Linked DNA regions of Homo sapiens: region 2 is linked to region 1. The links are contacts of gene promoters, found by promoter capture Hi-C in human tissues and cell types (Jung and others, 2019). All regions are on one chromosome and are shown on one strand. Each heading gives the region's core, a stretch centred on a gene start or on the middle of the fragment in contact. The rest is flanking DNA. Distances are from core to core; before and after follow the strand shown.

Region 1 (2,700 bases), core at 129-2,628:
TAAAAAAACAAAGCGTAGTCTTGAGTAAAAGGGAGGTCAGCCACCCAGGAGAAGCACATGACTCATGCACCGGCCTGAACTAAAGTATTTACACCGTCCACTACAACAGAGTGGGGTTTCCCATCTTCAAGCAAACCCAAGCCTTGGGGGCATCTCAGCCGAGTGAAGCCATGCTATTTCCGTTTGGGAGGAGGGGGATCATTTTATTTCGCTGAATCACAACTCCCCCACATCCCCACCCCAAATCACCACAATCACCACCACCACACAACACTGCAAATAAAATAGGCCGTTGCAAGGACGCCGGCGAGCACGGACCGAGCAAAACAAAGCGCCCAGCAAGGGGCTGCCAGGCTGAGAGTGGGTGCGTCAAGCGGGCCAAGCTCGCCTCCAGGGCACCGCTCCCGCCCTGAGGCCTGGCCTCAGACCGGCGTGCAGCCGCAGCCACCTCCCTCCGCAGGGGACCTGCCCCTTTCTCCGCAGCACTCCGGGGACCGCCGGGAAGGTGAAGAGATGGGGGTGGGGGCGCGCTGCCCCGGCCCAGGCAAAACGACCTGGGTGCCAGAAGGAGAGCGCGCCGGCCCCGGCCCACGTGAGCGCCGCGGCCGAGCCCGCCTAGAGGACCGCGGACCGGGACAGCTGCGCTCGCGGCCCCCGCGCCAGGCCGGGACTTACCCGGGCCGGGCGCGCCGCGGACCCCGCGGCGGCCGCTTCCTCCTCCTCCTCCTCCTCCTCACTTAACAAAATGGCGGCGGCAGGAAGTGCCGGGCGCCTCGGCCCGCCCCCCGCCCGCCCCCGACCGCCGGCCCCGCCGCGGCGCCCGCGCCCCCCACCCGCGCCCCGCCGGCCAGCCCAAGCCCGGGTCCGACGGCACCAAAGGCAGGACAGCCGCGAGCGACCCCGCCGCCCCGACACCAACGGCGCAGGCCGCCCCGGCCCGGAACGAACGGCGCGGGAGGCCCGCAGGCCCGAGCCCGCGTAGCCCCGGCCTCCCCGCCCCCGCGCCGCGCGGATGGCGTAGGTGGCGGCGCCCCGGCCCCATTACGCAATGCAGGTTACGCGGACCGCGCCGCGAGCCTCCGCCAGCCGCCCAGTGTCGTCCGCCGCCCCAAAGGGCACCAGTCCTCACCTGAGACGCTAGGCCGCACGCCGCCCCCGCCGGCCGTCCGCCCGCTGCCGCCGCCCCCTCCCCGAGCTGCCTGCGCGGCGCCGGGGCCCGCCCGCCGCTCTGCCGAGCTCACAGGCCGCGCTCGCCCGCGGGCACCGCCGGCAGCCGCCGCAGCCGCTGCCGCCGCCACTGCTTCGGCTCCTCGGCTGCGGGAGACCAGAACAAACAGCCCAGCCGCCGCCGCCGCCGCCGCCGCCGCCGCCAGCGCACTGACGTCACCGCGCACGCTGCGCGCGCGGCCCCGCGCCGCCGCCGCCCGGTGTGCGCGCCCCGCCCCCGCGCCCAGCGCGAACGAGCTCTGGAGAGACAGTGGCTGCGAGGTGAGTGGGGGATACCGCGGACTGAGGGAGGAGACCCCGCAGAGCGAAGGAGCGGGCTGGGGGAAACGGGCGGACTGCAGGCTGGGCCTGCGGGAAAAGATCTGAAGGCTGAGAGAGACATCCAAAATACTAAGAAAGGTCTGAAGACAGACCCTCACAGGGAGGGAGGATGGTGAGGAGGGACCCCACAGACTGATGGAGGAGGCGGAGGAGAGAGCCCTAAGGGGGGACCCCAGGTAGGGAGGCTGAGGCGAGAGAGCTGCGATGGGGGCGCCGGGGCTGGGGTGAAGTGGAGGAAAGGAGGTGAGAGGAGGCTGCGAGCAAGGCCGAGGCGGATCCTCCTTGGCTGCCCCTGGGCAGGGAGGTAGCACCTTTCTCCTCTTATGCCCCCCTGTTGATCTTCTTCCAACCCACCTTTTTAAAAAAAGGGACATGGTCTTGCTCTGTCCCCCAGGCTGGAGTGCAGTAGTGCAGTCATAGCTCACTGCAGCCTCAACCTGCTGGCCTCAAGCGATCCTCCTGCTTCAGCCTCCCAAGTAGCTGGGACTACAGGTGTGCACCACCACACCCAGCTAACTATTTTTTGTAGAGATGGGATCTCACGATGTTGGCCAGGCTGGTCTCTGTCTCCTGGACTCAAGCGATCCTCCTGCCTCGACCTCCCAAAGTGCTAGTATTACAGGCGTGAGCCACCGCGCCCAGCTCCTTCCCATCCTTAAGACTCAACCCCAAGTCAGACCAGGCTCGGTGGCTCACACCTGTAATCTCAGCACTTTGGGAGGCAGAGGCAGGAGGTTGGCTTGAGGCCAGGGGTTGGAGACCATCCTAGCCAACAGAGTGAAACCTCGCCTCTACTAAAAATACAAAAATTAGCCCCGTGTGGGCCGGGCGCAGTGGCTCACGCCTGTAATCCCAGCACTTTGGGAGGCGGGCAGATCACGAGGTAAGGAGATCGAGACCATCCTGGCTAAGACGGTGAAACCCCGTCTCTACTAAAAATACAAAAAATTAGCCGGGTGTGGTGGTGGGCGCCTGTAGTCCCAGCTACTCGAGAGACTGAGGCAGGAGAATGGCGTGAACCCGGGAGGCGGAGCTTGCTGTGAGCGGAGATCGCGCCCCTGCACTCCAGCCTGTGCGACAGAGCGAGACTCCGTCTCAAAAAAAAAAAAAAAAAATTAGCCGGGTGTGGTGGCGCATGCCTGTAATCCCATG
Region 2 (2,700 bases), core at 128-2,627, 790 kb after region 1:
GGAGGATTTGGGGTTGCAGTGACTTTCTTGCCCCATCTGTGTCGTTTTTGTCCCACACTCTTGCACCCACATCTGTCTCACCATTACCACATGGCCCGTGTCCTTATTCTGCAAACTTGGATGGCCCCAGACAACTTGGCCAGCAGCAGAAGTCATCAGTGCCCTCAGGTGCCACAGATGCAGGGCTGGGCCTGGGGAGCAGGTAGCGAGGAGGAAGGAAGAAATCCAGGCCTGGCCATGAGCAGGCCACGTGCCTTGGAGCCCAGGATGCCCGGCAACAAAGGGGGACTTGTGATGGCACTGCAGGCTGGCCCGCTGTGGGCACTCCACAAGGACATCGAGAACCACACAGACCGTCAGAGGGTGGCCCCCACATGTGGGTTCTGGGGCTGAAAAAGGCCCAGGGATATTGCTGAGAGGATAGGTGTCATCAGTGCTTTTGGAGTTAGCCCCCCCCCGCCCCCCGTGCTTGAATCTTAAAGGTCACGTCTCTGTGCCTCAGTTTCCCCTTGCATCGCATGGGCATGTTTGCGCTTGTCCACAGCAGTAGCGAGGCTGTGGACCCAGGCTGAGGCGGGGCTGCCCCGAAGCTCTTCCAGGACCCACGAGCCGTCTCCCAGTTGCTCACGTCTAGGTTAGGGAACTGGAAGGGCCTTGGCACTCTCGGCTCCATCTTCACACAGCCGGTTCCCTCTGTGGTGGGGTCACTGGAAGTTGTGTGGATGTCGGGTCAGGACTTCCTGGGCTCAGTTGTGCCTGGTAGGTGGCTCAGGCAGAGCGTGGGGTGAGCAAGGGGTGAAGAGGAGGCCGATTGCAGGGGAGGGTCAGCGTGAGGGGAGTGCTGCTGGCAGTGGGCCTGTGGACCGGCTCCCACCGTCAGGCTGCACCACCCCGTGGGCCATGAGGGGAGCCAGCCGGGCTTGTCAGCGAGTGCGTGGCAGGGGCTGGCCTGTGAGGCAGAAGGGTCACCTCAGCGGCCCGGGGGGCAGGACAAGGCTGGTGCCAGAACCCAGCAGAAAGAAGGGCCACAGGGATGGAGAGGAGGGGGCTGGCTTCCGGGGCTCCACAGAGGTGGGGAGGGCGGCAGCTAATGGGCCTGGCTGTGCAGTGGGTGCTGGGCTCCCCACCACTGTTCTCTGGTGCCGCTGAGGCCTCCCTTCCAGAGCCTGCAGCCGATCAGGCACCTGTGTCTTCTCTCCCCGCGCAGGGCATCATGCTGGTCTACGACATCACCAACGAGAAGTCCTTCGACAACATCCGGAACTGGATTCGCAACATTGAGGAGGTGAGGCCCTCCGGCTCCTCCCACTGTCCCTGCTTCAGTCCTTGTCCCAGAGCCCTCTGGTTTACTCATGAGAAGGCCAAGGTGCAGAGACACATACAGGCCACTTGCCCACAGCCTCCTAGTCAGGGACATGGTGGGAGCAGGGACTGAGATGCAAGCAGCCGGCCCCAGGGACCACACACTGGCCTGGCCCCACCCCGGAGCCCCTCGGAGCCCATCCCTCCAGCTAGGCTGTTGGATCTGGCCAGTGTCATGGTTATAAGAGAAAGGATATCCAAGCTTGTGGTCACCATGAGTGTTGGGTGCTTTCTAGAGAAGGAAGGGTCTAGCACAGGTGTGACCCTTGTAGTTGGAGGGTGTGGTGAGCAGGCGTCAGTTGTACTTTGAGCTATATCGGAGCAGGGTGTGACCTGGTACAAACGACCTGTGTTCAGACCTTGAACCATAGAGCAGTGAGAAGTAGGCCAACCCCTCCTCCCCTCCCAAAGCCAGCATCTTCATCTTCTGCTCCCCAAAGAGCTGACCTCACCCCCAAAGCCTTCCTGGCTGCCGGCACCTGCAGCTTTCTATAACTAACCATGTGGGGCTTCAGGTCTGAGGCACAGCCAGAGAACTTTTCCCATCTATAAAACCACAGCAAAAGGGCATATCACTGTCCACCCAGGACTCATGGACCTCCCAGGCCAGGCCGAGAGGCCACCCCATCATTTGTGAGTCATTGCACTGGGCTCACCTCCCCAGTGACCCTGAGAGGGCTGTGCTGCCAAATTTGCCAGTGCAGGGCTGCACCCCAGCTGGGAAAGCTGTCTTCATCCGTGGAGAGGAGGAGAGCCTGGTCTTTGTGAAAGGTCTCTGTTTCTGGCCAGCGGGCAGGAGCCACCTTCTGGTTCATGGGAAGTGAGGCAGGGAGTGGCGCAGTAGGTTCCAGAGACCAAGTCTGAGCTGGTGGAAGAAGACAGCAGTTTCCAGTGTCCCCGTCCTCCAGGAAGCGTGGTCCGCTCCATGGGGACCCAGGGAGACTTGACGAAGGAGCTGCCTTTGGGTATGAGGGCAGAGTTTGGGCAACATCAGACAGGGTGGTGAAGTGCCTGCAGCTGGTGACGGCCTCGAGTTGCGACCACCTCAGGCACGGCCTGTTTCTGGAGCCCAAAAATAGTTGAAATGTCAGGGCCAGGCGAGGTGGCTTATGCCTGTAATCCCAGCAGTTTGGGAGGCTGAGGCGGGCAGATCACCTGAGGTCAGAAGTTTGAGACCAGCCTAGCCAACATGGCGAAACTCTGTCTCTACTAAAAATACAAAAAATTAGCCTGGTATGGTGGCAGATGCCTGTAATCTCAGCTATTCGGGAGGTTGAGGATCGCTTGAACCTGAAGGCAGAGGTTGCAGTGAGCCGAGATCATGCCACTACACTCCAG

The links. Contacts are between HindIII fragments. The study calls those that stand out against the background at their distance.
Region 2: a fragment that was not itself captured here is called in contact with the fragment with the promoter of BRD4 in region 1 in 1 of the 25 tissues and cell types used here (dorsolateral prefrontal cortex).

The regions. Positions count from the first base shown.
Region 1 is chr19:15,331,161-15,333,860 of GRCh38, forward strand. BRD4 (bromodomain containing 4) reads right to left here and starts at 1,379. Exons shown (of 20, transcript NM_001379291.1): 1 at 1,130-1,379. It overlaps LOC124904643 (a long non-coding RNA gene), which reads left to right and starts at 1,453. Exons shown (of 4, transcript XR_007067146.1): 1 at 1,453-1,488. RefSeq lists silencers at 379-428, 439-588, 619-718, 919-1,148, 1,379-1,478 and 1 more and an enhancer at 1,645-2,261. The HindIII fragment of the contact is 25,776 bases long and covers 1-2,700 here.
Region 2 is chr19:16,124,263-16,126,962 of GRCh38, forward strand. RAB8A (RAB8A, member RAS oncogene family) reads left to right here. Exons shown (of 8, transcript NM_005370.5): 4 at 1,208-1,285. HSH2D-AS1 (HSH2D and RAB8A antisense RNA 1) reads right to left here. Exons shown (of 2, transcript NR_199156.1): 2 at 1-2,700. Among named protein-coding and RNA genes, the nearest start is that of RAB8A, 14 kb to the left of the region's middle. The HindIII fragment of the contact is 7,709 bases long and covers 1-2,700 here.